Regions from separate parts of the Homo sapiens genome. Here all the other regions are linked to region 3. The links are contacts of gene promoters, found by promoter capture Hi-C in blood cells and fetal thymus (Javierre and others, 2016). All regions are on one chromosome and are shown on one strand. The core of a region is centred on a gene start or on the middle of the fragment in contact, and the rest is flanking DNA. Distances in the headings are between cores, read along the strand shown.

The links. The method cuts DNA at HindIII sites, captures the fragments that hold promoters and counts their contacts. A CHiCAGO score of 5 or more calls a contact.
Region 1: a fragment that was not itself captured here is called in contact with the fragment with the promoter of NUP155 in region 3 in 1 of 17 cell types (total CD4 T cells); the score reaches 9.6 in total CD4 T cells.
Region 2: the fragment with the promoter of MTMR12 here is called in contact with the fragment with the promoter of NUP155 in region 3 in 4 of 17 cell types (total B cells, total CD8 T cells, total CD4 T cells and 1 more); the score reaches 6.8 in total B cells.
Region 4: a contact is called between a fragment that was not itself captured here and the fragment with the promoter of NUP155 in region 3, in 1 of 17 cell types (total B cells). The highest score is 5.2, in total B cells.
Region 5: a fragment that was not itself captured here is called in contact with the fragment with the promoter of NUP155 in region 3 in 1 of 17 cell types (activated CD4 T cells); the score reaches 7.4 in activated CD4 T cells.
Region 6: a contact is called between a fragment that was not itself captured here and the fragment with the promoter of NUP155 in region 3, in 2 of 17 cell types (total CD4 T cells and naive CD8 T cells). The highest score is 6.6, in total CD4 T cells.

The regions. Positions count from the first base shown.
Region 1 is chr5:31,538,932-31,541,631 of GRCh38, forward strand. C5orf22 (chromosome 5 open reading frame 22) reads left to right here. Exons shown (of 9, transcript NM_018356.3): 5 at 2,018-2,080; 6 at 2,350-2,471. Among named protein-coding and RNA genes, the nearest start is that of C5orf22, 8.0 kb to the left of the region's middle. The HindIII fragment of the contact is 5,751 bases long and covers 1-2,700 here.
Region 2 is chr5:32,311,581-32,314,432 of GRCh38, forward strand. MTMR12 (myotubularin related protein 12) reads right to left here and starts at 1,359. Exons shown (of 16, transcript NM_001040446.3): 1 at 1,178-1,359. The coding sequence starts at 1,258. RefSeq lists silencers at 688-827, 898-1,687 and an enhancer at 1,778-1,827. The HindIII fragment of the contact is 10,159 bases long and covers 1-2,852 here.
Region 3 is chr5:37,369,713-37,372,424 of GRCh38, forward strand. NUP155 (nucleoporin 155) reads right to left here and starts at 1,394. Exons shown (of 35, transcript NM_153485.3): 1 at 1,109-1,394. The coding sequence starts at 1,265. RefSeq lists enhancers at 1,067-1,176, 1,297-1,386. The HindIII fragment of the contact is 10,669 bases long and covers 1-2,404 here.
Region 4 is chr5:43,488,953-43,491,652 of GRCh38, forward strand. It overlaps C5orf34 (chromosome 5 open reading frame 34), which reads right to left. Exons shown (of 13, transcript NM_198566.4): 11 at 1,679-1,777. All of the region lies in intron 2 of C5orf34-AS1 (C5orf34 antisense RNA 1), which reads left to right. Among named protein-coding and RNA genes, the nearest start is that of C5orf34-AS1, 6.4 kb to the left of the region's middle. RefSeq lists an enhancer at 1-30. The HindIII fragment of the contact is 215 bases long and covers 1,312-1,526 here.
Region 5 is chr5:43,560,521-43,563,220 of GRCh38, forward strand. No RefSeq gene overlaps it. Among named protein-coding and RNA genes, the nearest start is that of PAIP1, 4.8 kb to the left of the region's middle. The HindIII fragment of the contact is 3,752 bases long and covers 1-2,700 here.
Region 6 is chr5:32,171,744-32,174,443 of GRCh38, forward strand. GOLPH3 (golgi phosphoprotein 3) reads right to left here and starts at 2,576. Exons shown (of 4, transcript NM_022130.4): 1 at 2,067-2,576. The coding sequence starts at 2,291. RefSeq lists a silencer at 1,860-2,469. The HindIII fragment of the contact is 263 bases long and covers 1,320-1,582 here.

The sequences.
Region 1 (2,700 bases), core at 125-2,624, 5.8 Mb before region 3:
GTATTCATTATTTTGCATTTATTAATTGGGGTAATGTATACATGGGTGATGGATAAAAATTAAGTCATACAGTACAGGTATATACAGTCAGCCCTCTGTATCCGTGGGTTCTGTATTCCTGGATTTAACCAGCCACAGATAGGAAATATTCAGAAAAAATAAAAAACAACTAGAAATAACAATACAAGAGTAAAAAATAATACAAATAAAAAACAATACAGTATAACAACTATTTACATAGGATTTACACTGTATTAGATACCACAAGTAATTTAGAGATGACTTAAAGTATATGAGAGGGTATGCATATGTTATATGCAAATACTACACTATTTTATGTCAGGGACTTGAGCATCCACAGATTTTGGTATCCACAGGAGGTCCCAGAACCAATCCCCCACGGATACCAAGGGACAAGTGTACATTGAAAAACAGCACTCTCTTATCCCCATTCCCTCAGTTCTTTGCTTCAGAAACAAATACTGTGATCAGTTTCTTGTGTATCTTTCCAGCGATATTCTATATATAAATCCTGTGTAACAGATTATTCCTTAAACAGTGATGTGCCTGATTACTCACCTAAATATTTGTAATAAATATTTGTAATGAAAGTTTCTAGAAGGTTACATAAGGAATTCAGTGGCAGTTATTCCTTTTAGAGTGCTATTAGGAAACCTGGGAACACAAGGATTTGTATAGCCTAAATACCCTTTGGTACAATGGACTTTTTAAAAAGCATATATTAAACTTTATTATTTAGTAGCAATTTTTTAAATATCATTAGGAAAGACAGATGTTCATCTTTTTTTTTTTCTTAAGAGCATGTTCAGGCTGGGCATGGTGGCTCATGCGTATAATCCCAGCACTTTGGGAGGCCAAAGCAGGAGGACCACTTGAGCCAAGGAGTTTGAGAACAGCGTAGGCAACGTAGCAAGACCCCATCTCTATTAAAAAAAAATTTTTTTTTTAATTTAGCCAGGCATAGTGGCACGTGCCTGTGGTCCAGCTACTCAGGAGGCTGAGATGGGAGGATCACTTGAGCCTGGGAGGTCAAGGCTGCAGTGAGTCGTGATCGCACCCCTGCACTCCAGCCTGGGTGACAGCGAGACCCCATCTCATAAAAAAGAAGCATGTTCAAAAGTTAGGGGAGTTAAGTTCTGTTGTTAACTCTACTGCTTATTAGCTATATGATCTTAGGAAAATTACTTAACCTTTCCGACCCATAGTTTCTTCAAGTATCAAATCAGAATAATAATCATACCCAACTCAGGATTGTTATAATGAATAAAGCACTGAAGATATGCCACAACATTGTGCTTAATGAATTTTAGCCCTTGGGTATAACCTTTTCCTGAGAATACTCCTAAATAGGATTACTGGGGCCAGGTGTACCCACCTATATAATGGATCCATGTAGCTGTGCTAAACAAGGGGAAACATTATCCTACAAAGTTTGTATAGCAAGCCTCTTTCTCCCCTTGTGTGGTGCCTCCTGACCGAGGTTCTATGTCTTTGACATTCTACCTCCAGTATTGCCTTTGTACTTCAGAGATCTCTTCTGTTGTTAGAGAAATGGCTGCAAAGTGAACATAGGGAGTTCTTTGTTGTTGTTATTAAAGATATGTATATTTCCTGTAAACAGCTAAGTCTGTTTAGATCCTAGGACATGGCATTTATATAGCAGAATATTATTTAAAATATTTTCATCTCGTGACCCATTAGCCACCAAGTATGCTTCCTTAGGTAATTTTTACATAGTAGTACCATGCCCAGCTGGATAGAGTTGCCTTGAAGAAGTGATATTTACAATAAAACAAAATTTTACAATATTTACAATAAAATTATTACAATAAAAATCTAAAGTATACATTTTGCCTGATTCTCCCATACATACCTTTAAATAATTATCTAAGATGTTCTTGTATCACAAGGAAGGTTGTCTCTTCCTTAAAGCATATCATTAAAAAATTTTAACTTTTTTTTTTCTGGTATGTGGATTTTTTGTTTTGTTTTCCAGGAAGAGTACAAAATCTTACAAGAGCTGTACCAATTTAAGAAACCTGGCACCAACCTAACAGAGGTATCCTCCATTTGTTTCTTTGGGGTTTTATTCATTTATCATATAACTAATAATATCTTGCAAATTACCACAGTGATCTCAAAGACTGCTCAAAGTGTGTGTGTGTGTGTGTGTGTGTGTGTGTGTGTGTGTGTGTGTATTGGCGAAGCCCATGGTTAGTACTTGAAAATTATGTTTTAACTAATAGAGCCAAGTTTTTTTTGTAATGGGATGTTGCTTGTTTTTTGAAAGAATAACTATATAATCTCAGCTTTTCAATGTATTTAAAGGAAGATTTGGTAGATATTGTTGATACTCGAATTCATCAATTAGAGGATTTAGAAGCCACTTTCGCTGATTTGTGTGATGGTGATGATGAAGAAACGGTACAGAGATGGGCTTCAAACCCTGGGTAAGACTCTCAAACATTTTTTTCCCCCAACTCTACTAACTTTCAGTCCTAGATATGTTCCTAAATTTGCAAGATACATTGCTTTTAAAAAAGTAGTATTCAGCTACTTGGGACACTGAGGCAGGAGAGGACCACTTGAGGCCAGGAGTTCCAGACCAGCCTGGGTAATGTAACAAGACCCTGTCTCTAAAAAAAGGTTTTTTAATTAGCCAGATATGGTGGCACCTAC
Region 2 (2,852 bases), core at 109-2,608, 5.1 Mb before region 3:
GAAGGGCAGAAAAAAACCTTTACAGATGCAAAACAAGAAGGCTTCTCATTAGGCATTTGGATTAAGAACTATTGCTCAAGAAGCCCTGAGCAAGGCCTACAAGTTCTGATCTCTCTAACCTCCTCTCCTATGACTGTCCCCCTTGTCCATGGGCCTCTGCCATGCTGGCTTCCTTGACGCTCCGCCAACCCTTCAGACACACTCCCACCTCACGACCTTCCCGGGGGCTGTTCCCTCTACCTGGACGACTCTTCTCTCAGACCTCTCGTATCTTCAAGTCTCGGCTCAAATGCCACCTTTGCGAGGAGGAAAAAGATTTCTTTTCTTTCCCATGATATTTATCACCTCCTACTACACCGTATAATTTACTTAATTATCTATAATTCACCCCGTTTCTCCTTTCCCCCTCAAATAAGCTCCAGGAATGCAGAGATCTCTGTCCTGTTCACTGATGTCTATCACAAGCACTTAGTGCCTGACACACAGTAGGAGCTCGAGAAGTATTTTCTGAATGAATGAACAAATTTCTTGACCTGAAGATTCAGAAGAGTAAGAAGTGGGTGGAAAGGATGATGGTGAGGGGATGAGGAGAAAGAAGCGACAGCGGAGAATTCCCAAGGGAGAGACAAGCAGAGACTGGCTGAGGCCAGGCCGACCCCCTTTTCTCCCCGCAGCGCTGACGGGAGGCGGACGTAGGTGCAGGGCATCCCGCCAGCCGCACCCGAGGCACTCAGACGCAGGCAGCGGAGGCCGGCGGGCTTCTGGGCTCACTGAGAAAGTCCAGAGGCAGGACGGACCCACGCGGGCTCCGAGCAGGCCCCGTTGGGGGCTCCGACCCACGGCCCTACCCCTCCCAGCAGTGCCCACAACCCCAGGTCCTCTCCAGAATCCCCAGGGGCGTTCCGGGCCGCAATCCCTTCTCGGCTCGGGCCCCTCCACCAGCCTCCAGCGCTCGGGCCCTGCGCTCAGGCACCTGCCTGCCTGCGCCGGGGTCCCCATTCCGGCCCGCGCGGAGGCCCCAGCGCGCTCCTGCGGCCTCAGCCCGCCTGGCTGCCCCGTCGCCCGGCACAAGGGCAGGAAGCGCTCCGCGGCGCTCCCCGCTGCAAGGAAGGGGCTCCCGGCGCCCCTCGCCCCGGCCGCCCCTGCCCGACGCCCCGCCTGCGCGGCGCCCCCTCACCTCAGGGCGTACGTACGACACGAAGGAGGGCTTGGGGGCCTTGGTGCCGCCGCCACCGCCGACTACTCCTTTCCCCAGCATACCGCCGCCCTGGGAAGCAGCGACGCGCGGACGCAGAGGCGGCGGCTCGGGCTCCAGCTGGGGCAGCAGCGGCGGCCACCAGCACTAGCGGCTGGGGCTCCGCCCATCCCCAAGGCCGCGACCGCCGCGATGCCGCCCGCATCCGGCTCCGCCGCTGACACCGCTCGCCCCGCCCAGGCCCGTGGGCCCCGCCCATCCCGTGCGCGGGCCCAGAGAGCCGGGAGACCGCAACTGGAGGCCACGCCCCCCCATCACGTCAGGAGAGTTTGACCCGCCGAGATTCACCACCTTCCTGCGGCAGAGCCCGCCCTCATGCTTTCTCTGATTGGCCCGAGGCGCTGCCGGCCGAACCCCGCTCCCAACCCATTCTTGAGTGCACTTGGAGAGATGTTTCCTCCAACCAATCCAGAGAGCGTTCTCTCCGGACTTTCCAACGATTGGATGGCGAGGATAAAACCGTCGTCCAATGATCCTGCAGTCACCAAGTTGTCGTTAGCAGGGGTTCACGGCAGTCGTTTTCTTCCGTTTGCTTGTGTCTTTGGAATAAAACGTCCAAAAATGGGATGTATGGAATCTTGCTATAGGAGTTCCCAACTTACAGCGATGACGTTCAAGGTTTTTTATTTTATTATTATTTACTTTTGAGACGGAGTTTTGCTCTTGTCGCCCAGGCTGGAGTGCAATGGCGCGATCTCTGCTCATTGCAACCTCCGTCTCCCAGGTTCAAGCGATTCTCTTGCCTCAGCCTCCTGAGTAGCTGGGATTACAGGCGCCCGCCACTATATCCAGCTAATTTTGTGTGTGTGTGTGTGTGTGTGTGTGTGTGTCGTTCTGTCGCCCAGGCTTGAGTGCAATGGCGTAGTATAGGCTCACTGCAACCTCTGCCTCCCAGGTTCAAGCGATTCTCCTGCCTCAGCCTCCCGAGTAGCTGGGATTATAGGCGCCTGCCATCACACCCGGCTAATTTTTGTATTTTTAGTAGAGACGGGGTTTCACCATGTTGGCCAGGCTAGTCTCAAACCCCTAACCTCGTGATCCGCCCGCCTCAGCCTCCCAAAGTGTTGGGATTAGAGGCATGAGCCACCGCGCCATGCCGCTAATTTTTGTATTTTTAATGGAGACGGGGGTTTCACCATGTTGGCCAGGCTGGTCTCAAACTCCTGACTTCAGATGATCCACCCGCTTCGGCCTCCCGAAGTGCTGGGATTACAGGCGTGAGCCACCGCGCCCGACCTCAAGGTTTATTATTTTAAATGTAAACAAAAATGAGACAAACGATGACTCACGCCTCTAATCCCAGCACTTTGGGAGGCCGAGGCGGGTGGATCATCTGAAGTCAGGAGTTTGAGACCAGCCTGGCCAACATGGAGAAACCCTATCTCTACTAAAAATACAAAAATTAGCCTGGTGTGGTGGCGGGCGCCTGTAATCCCAGCTACTCGGGAGGCTGAGGCACGAGAATCGCTTGAACCAAGGTTGCAGTGAGCCAGGATCGCGCCACTGCACTCCAGCCTGGGTGGCAGAGCAAGACTGTGTCTCAAACAGAAAAAAAAAAGTGTCAAATCAAGTGTTAACAAGGCAGTGAGGAATAAGT
Region 3 (2,712 bases), core at 144-2,643:
TGATTTTTATAAATAATCAGAAGTGTTCTCGGTTTACACTGCACAAATTATCCTATTTAGATTACTTTGGTTCTTGCTCACCAACAATCTTTTCTTTCTTACACTTCGCTGGTTTTCTCCAAATTCCATCTCACAAAGGGGTCACTTTTTCTAGCAACTGATGTAATTCCATAAGCCGTGGGGAGCTGGTTATAACTTAAAACTGTTAAACAAATTACTTTCCAGTCACCTATATTGTCAACACATATTCTGCCTTACTCTCCCTGTACATAAGCACTGTGATTTCCCTGTTCTCTTTCTTTATTCCACTGGTAGTTCTTTTAAGATCCTCCAGCATTTCATAACACACATCTCTACACATAATAAAGCGTTTCTTGGCCGGGTGCAGTGGCTTGCGCCTGTAATCCCAGCACTTTGGGAGGCCGAGGCGGGCGGATCACTTGAGGTCAGAGTTCGTGACCAGCCAGGCCAATATGGTGAAACCCCGTCTCTACTTAAAAAACACAAAAATTAGCCGGGCTTGGTGGCAGGCGCCTGTAATCTCAGCTACTTGGGAGTCTGAGGCAGAAGAATCGCTTGAACCCAGGAGGCGGAGGTTGCAATGAGCCGAGATCGCGCCATTGCACTTCAGCCTGGGCGAAGAGGGAACCGCTCCGTCTCAATAAATAAACAAATAAATATAAAGCAAAGCGTATCTTTAAGATAACATGCTAAATTTCCAAATTAACTTCGTTTGCTCTTACGATCTACTCAAACACTAACAGGAGAAATGAACAAATTTGGGACTTGGATCTGGAGATGCTTCTCATATGGCCTTAGCCATAAGCACTTGAGAGCGGCGAGAAGCTCATTAAGGTTGAGGTCTTTGCCTCTTTCTGCTTCAACTGGGAGCTTGCTCTTCACTCTTGCCCTCTCAAGTATCTACAATGAAGAAAGTGAGGAAAGGAAAAAACCTGAAAAGAAGCTGCTTGCTGTTCTCCAAAAATGCAGCCAACAGTGCCATAAATCTCAGCATATCCTCGCCGGGACCAACGCTGGGGATAAGTAGCAAATTAGGAAGTCAGGCGAGAGTCCTTTAGGTTGAGAAAGCAGGGTCACTATCACTCACTTGGGGCAGACACCATAAGCAGCTCGGAAAGGTCCGGGTACATGCGGTCCTCTTGCAACTGACGGTCGATGAGCCGTCCAGCATTTTCCAGAGCTTCCTGCAGGGCTGCGGCAGATGTAGAGGCCGGCATCGCCGCGCCCAACAAAGAAGACGGCATCTCGGAAATCGTAGACACCAGGGTCCAGAAAAAGTCAAAAACCAAGGAGAAACAAGAAAAGATCCAAGAAGTTAGCTTAGATCCGCCGCCTAGGGCGCGCGCGCCAAACGAGCGCCTTGGCGCCTCGACATGACGCACTTCCGCTTCATCCGGTGGGGAACTGGAAGACGCCGTTCTGGCCTGGGAAGAGGAAGCTGTTGGGAGGGGGCTAGAGGTTGTGGGTGGAGCTAGGAGGCTGCTGATGCTTTCGAGGGGGTTGAGGGTTTTGGGGTGTGGCAGGGTAAAATTAGGGTAGGTTATTTAGGGAAGGGAGGGAGGGAAAGGAAGGGAAGGATAAAGGGGAGGGAACAGGGAAGGAGAGGGGCGGGATGGGGTTGGATAGGGTGAGGAGGAAGGAGGGAGGAGGGATACGGTAGGTGGGAGCTAGGTCGTGTGTCTGGCCTAGGAGGTTGGTCAGGTTCCGTTGGTTTAAGCGCGTGCTCGACCTGAGTCTTGGAACTTCCCGCGTCGGTATCCGCTAACTGCAGCTATATGAGTTCGCGCATGAGCGCGCAGTTTGGTTCTCCAAGTAACTGCTTTTGTGAGAGTAGTTAAGAATTGGTAGGTCGCTGTCACAGAGAGGGATATAAACCAGTATCTCACTATATTCTTCGCGGGCTTCAGTGTAAATTAGAATTCATCAGGCTTTTCCATTTGCGTGTCGCTGTCTTTTGACTTTGTTGCCCCTTAGTATAAAATACGTGTTTAAGAAGAAGCTGAGTGCAGGTGGACCGCTGCCGTGCTTTTTATCGTGGCAGAGATAGCAGACAGTTCTAATTCATCTTTCCATTCCCAGCGCTAGTATAGGAACTCGTATGAGATAGGAACCCAAGAGTTCATACAATCCTAAGAAACTGAATACTTGCCTTGTGCCTGGTGCTGGGACTATCAAACTAACACAGTGTTTCCTGTCCTTAAGGTGCTTCAAGCAGAGACAAAGGGCTTCATTATAATTTTTCTATTTGGATAGGTATAAACTATAGCAGGATAGGAGAAAGCAGAGAGGTAAAAGAGGCTTCATTTACTACAGAAGGCAACCTGAGTGGGTAAATCAAAGCACTTTTTAGAAAGCTGCTCTTATTTAGAATCTCACCTAAGAAAGCTTCCAGTTATGTTCTTCAGAATTTCACAAATCAATAACTGAATTACTCTAAATTGGTCTTTTGCTATTTGAATTACATTTTTACTCCCTCAAAGACTTGACTACATTTCTGAAAATTGAAAGTTCTTTGATGTTACCAATCTACACTTAAAATTTGACATAGCCAATATACCAAGAAAAACTGGATTTTTTATCATTGGTATATAGATAGGCAGTTGGGTCTCTAGCTGTGAGTTTACTTTATTTGGTAGACCATAGATTGAAAAGTGGTGGTCTGGCACCGAGTTTGTTTTTAATTTGAGACAA
Region 4 (2,700 bases), core at 169-2,668, 6.1 Mb after region 3:
TCCCTGTCAGCTTGTACTCTTTCCCTTGTACTCCAGCCTATGGATGGAGAATGAAAAGAAATATTTCATAATTTTAAACACCTGTGGCAAAGAACTTGGATACAACTTACCCCAACAACCAGCTGATTGTTCATTATTGCAAAATATCTTTTTTTTTTTAAACCCAACGCATTTTTCTGGATGTAAGAAACAATACAACCTTTATTGTTATTGCTCTCATAATGAACGAACTTTTTATGAAACGTACTATTTGTTGACTAAAAAGTTGAATTAATAAGCTAATAATGGAGGGTGTGGCGGAAAAAAAATACTAGAATACAACTTAGGTAGCTTTTTATTGTACAATCTTGTTTCTTCCTTCAACCTACCCTCTTTGATAAGAAAAACCGAAGTGGAGATACCTAAGGCTTTATAGGGGGAATGGAGCTACTCCTCAATTTCTTTATCTTGCCTCTGCTGTTCCTAGTTGCTTTCACCTTTAGCTACTATCACCAATCTCTACTTGCAGTTTTTAGTGTGTATTGACAGCCTCTTCTCAGCTTTCAAATAAAAAGGCTGATGATATTTTACAAACTGCCAGCTAAGCAATGGTGAAGTGATGGTTTTATAGACAAGTACAATTTTCCTTCCATCACAATTGTTTTTTGCTAGTTACTTTAGCAACTTTTCTGCTTCCAAACAGGCTACAGCTAAAGGATGAGGGATCTGCAAAGCTGGATCCTTAAGCTACCTGAGATATTCAAATAACGCTTACTGATATGATTTGATTTGTTCTAAGAAAGGGCTTAGGAAAAGGTAACAAAAATTGGCTTAATGTTTACATTTTGTTTCACTACACTATGTTAGGTCACCTCACAAAACTTACTTAAAAAGCTTCCCAAATTGTTCCTGGTATCCCTGTCTTCCCATATATTCAGGTTAGACTCTCAGTGACACTAATCTTCTAATGACCTTTCTTCCTATCATTTTTCCATTTAGGACTTTCTAATTCCATCAGGTCTGAACTCCTATTTATTATAAGATCCATTCCTAGCCCTCAAAACTCATACTATATACTAATAGATAGCATATGTTCCATAAAAACTATCTTCTATCTCCACAGGCTAAAATATCCTTTTTACTTCTGCCCTTATTTCCTCCCTAAAATGTCTTATATTTTCACAGAAAGTTCCCTTGAAGCCCAGTTCTAGTACCCTGCACACTGAAAAGCACACAGGAGGGACTAAAATACTTGCTTTATTTGATCTGCCAGTTAATTTGGGAGAAGTAACTAATATGACAGAAATTATTTAAAAATCAATGTTTTCTGAAAGCTTATGTTATTAAACCTTTTATTTCCTTCAACATTACTAAAAATTTAAGAATCCCCTTTAAATTTTTCCATAAAGTTTTCAGGATGAATTTGTCACATAAAAAGAGCCACTCATTTTCATGTTAAGTTTTCAATGCAAGGTTTTCTTACCTTTAGGTAAAATAGAATATGATGAAATGTAATAAATTAGATGTCTGATTAGAAATTATTTTCAAGCTTAAGCTATCAAAAATACTTTAGGAGTTAAACATATTCAAAACTAAGAAAGTTTTTTTGGGGAAAAAAGTCTCAGTTTACCATTTGACATTTTAATTTTTTTTAAAGTATTAGCTCTTCTAAACAGATTTAAGTTTAAAAGAAAAATACCAATTTTCTTGGAGAACAGAAGATGACGAATGAGTGGGCATCTCTCTGGGACTAGTCTGGGTCAGTCTCCTGCACCATGATGTTACTGTTGTCACATATCTAAAGTGAATACATTAAAAGAAATACTTGAAAAATGAACTTGAATACATTATAAAATTATAAACAAATGTAAAAATAAGACAATTTGGGAAAAAAGGATAAAGAAAAAATGTTAAAGTGAAGCATTTACTGGGCAATTCTCAAAATATTTTTCACTGGTCATAGAAAAGCCAAATTTTTTCCATTATTCATCAAGAATAAAATGATTTACTTATATTTGTGATTAATACAAGTGACATTTAAGAATCAAAATAAAGGCGATATTTGGATTTCATTTAAAGTTCAATTTTAAATGTTCTAATTCTTTTAGTTTTTCAAAGTAAAATGCGTTTAAGTTTTATCAAAAAATATTCACACAAAATAAGACTGACTGAGCATTTGCTTACTAAAATTTAAACCAAAAAACACCTGCTAATGCATATACACATATGCTTGTATGCATATGTGTAATTATATGTAACTTACTACATATCTAAAACAAGTATCAAGTTTAATAAAATGAATGATCTGAAATGATTGGCTGAATCAATAGAAATGTTTGCTAAAGAAACTATCTTTTTTGAGGCAAATCATTAATAGCAATGAATGAGCACTTAGACTGAAACACAATAAAACCCAACAGAAAAATACATTCAAGAGGTAACAAAAAGCTATTATTTTGTGAATATTCTCAAGTGAAATCACTAAAATGTGAAGACTATCACAAGATTTACTGTAATAAATTAGATAAACCAAAAGAAAAAAAATTCATAAAAAGCTGAAGACTCTTCCCCATTTTAAGATAATCATTGCGTAATTTTATCCACTTTATAGAAATATACAGAATTTCAGTTATTTGTGGTTGCAAATCTTATTTCAAATTGGCTAGAGGATTAGTTAATTGTTAACACAGCTGACCATATCCAACCTCCACAGCAAATCAG
Region 5 (2,700 bases), core at 97-2,596, 6.2 Mb after region 3:
ACCAGAAGCAGATGTTGGTGCCATGCTTCTAGTACAGCCTGCAGAATAGTGAGCCAAATGAAACCCTTTTCTTTATAAATTACCCAGCCTCAGCTATTCCTTTATAGCAACAAAAATGGATGAAGGCACCACATATTTGACAAAAGACTTGTATCTAGAATATATAAAGTACTCTCAGAACTCAACTGTATTGAGAGTACTATAGCCAGGTGCGATCCCAGCACTATGGGAGGCTGAGGCGGACAGATTACCTGAGGTCAGGAGTTCGAGACCAACCTGGACAACATGTGAAACCCCGTCTCTACTAAAAATACAAAAATTAGCAGGCATGGTGATGCGTGCTTGTAATCCCAGCTACTTGGGAGGCTGAGGCAGGGGAATCGCTTGAACCCGGGAGGCAGAGGTTGCAGTGAGCCGAGATTGCACCACTGCACTCCAGCCTGGGTTGAGCGTGACTCCGTCTGAAAAAAACCCAAACAAACAAAACACCTAACTCAACTGTAAAAGGACAGTTCAGTTAGAAAAGGGCCAAACATAAATGAAAGAACACTTCACTGAAGGGAATATACAGATAGCATAAGCCTATGAAAAATGTTCAACATAATTAGCCAGTAGGAAAATTTTTTTAAAACCACTGAGATTTCACTACCTACTTATTCGAATAGCTTAAATAAACAATAGTGACAATGCAAATTCAAGGATGTAGAGAAACTAGGAACTGTGTTGCTCATACATTGCTGGTGAGAATGTAAAATGCTATAGTCACTTTAGAAAACAGTTTCTTTAAAAAACTCTACATATTAAGTACTGTACTACCTAGCAATTGCACTGCTGGACATTTCTCACAGAGAATTAAGATTTATATTCACATAAAATCCTGTACCCAAATATTTAGAGTGGCATCATTAATAAGAGCCCCAAATTAGAAAGAACCCAAATATCCTTTGATGAATAGTTAAACTGTGGTACATTCATACCACAGAATGCTACTCAGCAAAAAAAAGGAACAACTGCTCATATAAGAATGTTGATGGATCTCAAGGGAATTATGCTGAACACAAAATTTCAATCTCAAGAGCAATTGTATGATTCAATTTATGACAAAATTATGAAGATGGAGAGCAGATTTGTGGTTGCCAGGGGTTAAGGAGGGAGTGGAATTTAGAGGCAAGTAGATGGGGTTATTAAAAAAGTAGGTAGCATGAGAAAAACCTTGTGATGGAACTATTTTGTTCTTTACTATAATGATGGTCACATAAGTCTATACATGTGATAACATTGCATAGAAATAAGTGTGCACACATACACACACATACACACATGTGCATATAAAACTAAGGTTGGTGAACTGTATCACTTATAGTTATACAAGATGTTACTATTGGGGGAAACAAGGTGAAGAGTAAACAAGTTCTCTCTGTATTATTTCTTACAATTGCATGTGAATCTACAACTAAGTTTTAGAAACCTAACATATAAATAAACTTCGTTCCATGTTATTCCATCACTCCTAATTCTCTCCTAGCTAGTTCAGTTCACTCCTTTCTGCACAAATCATCATGGCAACTTACATATCATTATAAATGAGTGGGGGCATCATTAAGAGAGAAAAAAATTAGCTGATGCATTTGTCCTTGTGTTTCTCATCTGTGTAAATTATCTTCCTCTGGCCACTATTAAAAGTAACCCCAGGCAGTCAGCTCTTGAGACTCCCATCTGGATTAGGGCCCCAATTCATCTTAGAGTCTAAGATAGCCAGGAATGCTGCTTGGAATCTCCTCAATATCTACTGATACTTGTTTAACGTTGATCTCTTAGCTGTACTGTAAATTCCACGAGGCTAATGAAAGAAACCAAAATATTTCACCTTGACATAGTTCAAGATGGTTATTTGGATGGGCTGAAAATATAAGAGTAGCTAAAAACCTGCCTTTTTTGGGGAAGATTGGATCTGTAGAGACAACTTGCATTGATGCAGTGAGGCTTTCTCTGAGACCCTCACTTGTCCCATCTAGGAAAGATTAACTGAGACTCTGATACCTTTAAAGGTTTATAAACATTCTCTCTGAGGACTGCTACCTGTGAGATTTCATCTACATAATAAGACCACCTTTGCTAGCCAGTTCTCCTCTTCTCTCTCTCTCTCCCCTACCGTGTCTTGCTACTATAACCGATTTAACACCATAATCTGTTTTTGGCTATGTGCTGGGATTCCTCTCTTTCTGTAACTTCAAGATAGTAAGTATATCAGCTTCTGTACCCCATTTGGGTAATTACTTTCTGAGTCTCCTCTGAGCATAGTCATTTCTTTTTTTTTTTTTTTTGAGACGGAGTCTCGCTGTGTCACCCAGGCTAGAGTGCAATGGCATGATTTCGGTTCACTGCGACCTCCGCCTCCCTGGGTTCAGTGATTCTCCTGCCTCAGCCTCCCAAGTGGCTGGGATTACAGGCACACGTCACCACGCCCGGCTAATTTTTGTATTTTTAGTATAAACGGGGTTTCACCATATTGGCCAGGCTGGTCTCGAACTCCTGACCTTGTGATCCACCTGCCTCGGCCTCCCAAAGTGCTGGGATTACAGGCGTGAGCCACCGTGCCCGGCCTCACAGTCATTTCTTTTAATATATCTTTTGTCAGTTGATTTTTCAGTAAAACTTTAGAGAGCAAAGGGGAAGTTATTCTTTGGCCCCCGCAATAGG
Region 6 (2,700 bases), core at 201-2,700, 5.2 Mb before region 3:
TCAAAAGCAGCCTGACAAACATGGTGAAACCCCGTCTCTACTAAAAATAAAAACATTAGCAGGGCGTGGTGGTGCATGCCTGTAATCCCAGCTACTTGGGAGGCTGAGGCAGGAGAATCGCTTGAACCCGGGAGGGGGAGGTTGCAGTGAGCCCAGATGGCGCCACTGCACTCCAGGCCTGGGCGACAGAGCGAGATTCCGTCTAAAAAAAGAAAAAAAAAAAGACAAATGTTTATAATCAAGATTTCCAATTTTGAAACCTAAAGTTGAATATTTTCTAAAAATTACATTACTAGGACGCTATACCCCTAGTTTACTTTTTCATCCAAAGAACAAGGAACTGCACATACAGCCTGCTTTATCATCACAACTCAATAATTAAACAGGTACAGCAGCCCTTTCACAGCCAGAGGAACATCAACTTTTTTCAAGGTTACTGTTATTAAAACCTGAGAAATGGGAAACCAAGATATGGCAAATGCCCCAGACGTATCTATCAAGCTAACCGTTAGTTCATTAGATTTCTAAATAAGAAAGGTCCATAAACGGTCCATATAAAACTCGCCTATATCTAGTAAGTTTCAGTGACCAAGAAAGATTACGTTGTTTTGTAAGACTTTTTTTTTTTTTTTGCCCACCTTCCTGAATTTGGAAAACTTTCTTAAAATCAGGCCTGGGCGCGGTGGCTCAAGCTTGTAATTTCAGCACTTTGGGAGGCCGAGGCAGGCGGATCACTAGGTCAAGAGATCGAGACCATCCTGGCCAACATGGTGAAACCCCGTCTCTACTAAAGGTATGAAAATTAGCTGGGCATGGCGGCGCACGTCTGTAGTCCCGGCTACTCGGGAGGCTGAGGCAGGAAAATCGCTTGAACCCGGGAGGCGGAGTTTGCAGTGAGTGGAGATCGCGCCACTGCACTCCAGCCTGGGCGACAAACTGAGGCTCCGTCTCAAAAACAAAACAAAACAAAAACACAAAATTAGCCGGGCATGGTGGCGCATGCCTGCCTCAGGAGGCTGAGGCAGGAGAATCGCTTGAACCCGGGAGGCGGAGATTTCGGTAAGCCGAGATCGCGGCATTGCACTCCAGCCTGGGCAACAAGAGCGAAACTCCGTCTCCACATAAATAAATAATCATTTTTGTAGGCAAATATAACAAATACAGCAAAACGTCATAGAATCTAGAAAGAGTATATATGCATATGTATCTATCACTTTTTCAACTTTTCTGTGTGTGAAAATTTTGGACACTGAAGTGAAAATAAACGCTTTCAAAGTCAGAATACAAAGAATTATCTATTGCAACTTCAACCCACCTGAAGCTTTGAGGCCTCTGATCAACTCACAAACCTACATTTCAAGCACTCGATGAAAAAGCCCTTTCTTAAGACGGCAAGACTTTGAGATTCATCAACTGATAAAATATAAAAGCGATACTAAAAATAATCTCTCACCTAATGTAAGTTCACCTAGAAAGTCATTTACCAGGAGGTTTCATGAGAAACTTAACTTAACTTTACTCAGTAAAAGAGCTTTTCCCTCTATTACCACTTCGCCTACGTTTTTCGTAATTCCCAACAGTAAGCTTTAACTGAAGAAGAAGAAAAAAAAAACATCCCCAGCAAGCAGATCCGGGCACCCCTCCCAGGTCCTAAAGCCTGCAAAAACCCAAAGAGTTCGTGGCGCTGGTGGCTCCAGCTGTTAGTTTCCCGGGCAGTCTCCGGGTTGGATTTGCACCCTGGGGTCTACACGGGTTAAAAACGCGGAAAAAAGGCGACGAAGAAATACAAACTGCCAGGGTGTCGAAATGAAAGGAGCGACTGTGAAAGGGGTAAGGAAAAATCCAAGCCATCTCTACGGGGAGGATCCAGAAAGCACCAGCCGCGCCAGGGGGTCAACCAACTCCGACACCGCTCGGCGTCAGCTGGGCGCCACCAGGCGCGGACTTCGGAGCGAGGGCAGGTGCGCGGGCCGGAAGCCTCGGGCGCTCACCTGGCACCTACCTGGAGCTCACCTGGCGCCCGGGCCCCGCGCCGCCGCCCCCCGCCCAGCCCGCCGCGCCCGCACCTCGCGGTCCTTGAGGCCCAGCAGGAGCACTTCCTCCATCAGGGTCAGCCGCGTTTCCTTGGAGTCGCCCTTGTCGTCGTCGTCCTGCTCGTCGCGGCGGCTCTGCGCGTCGTCCTCGCTGCTGCCGGCGCCGCCGCCCGCCGCCCGCTCCTTGTCGGCGGCGTTGCGGGAGGCCTCGGTGCGCCGCTGCACCAGGCCGGAGCTGCGCTGGGTCAGCGAGGTCATGGCTCCCGCCGAGGCGCCGAGCCGGGCCGAGAGGGTCGCAGGACCGACCGGGTCGCCCTCCTCCTCCCCGCGCGGCCTCCGATCCGGGTTTCCGTGTTAAATCCGGACGCCGGGGCGACGTCCGTCGGCAGCAGGGCCGGGGGCAGTCATGAGGAAACAGGTCAGGGCGAAGCGGGCTGGCCGGGCGTCGGCGGGGCAGGAGAGGAGCGCCTTCCTGCCTGTGGCCGCAGTCCCCGAAACACCCCGAGCTCCAAGGCGGAGGCGGCGGCGGCGCCTTTCCAATATGGCGGCCCCGGCTGACGTCACCGGAGGATGTGGCAGAGTCGGCGCGGGAGAGCTGGGCCGGGAGGCGCCGGAAGCGGCGGCCGGGGATCCGCTGCCACTGCAGCCTACACCCTTCCCGGCCCTC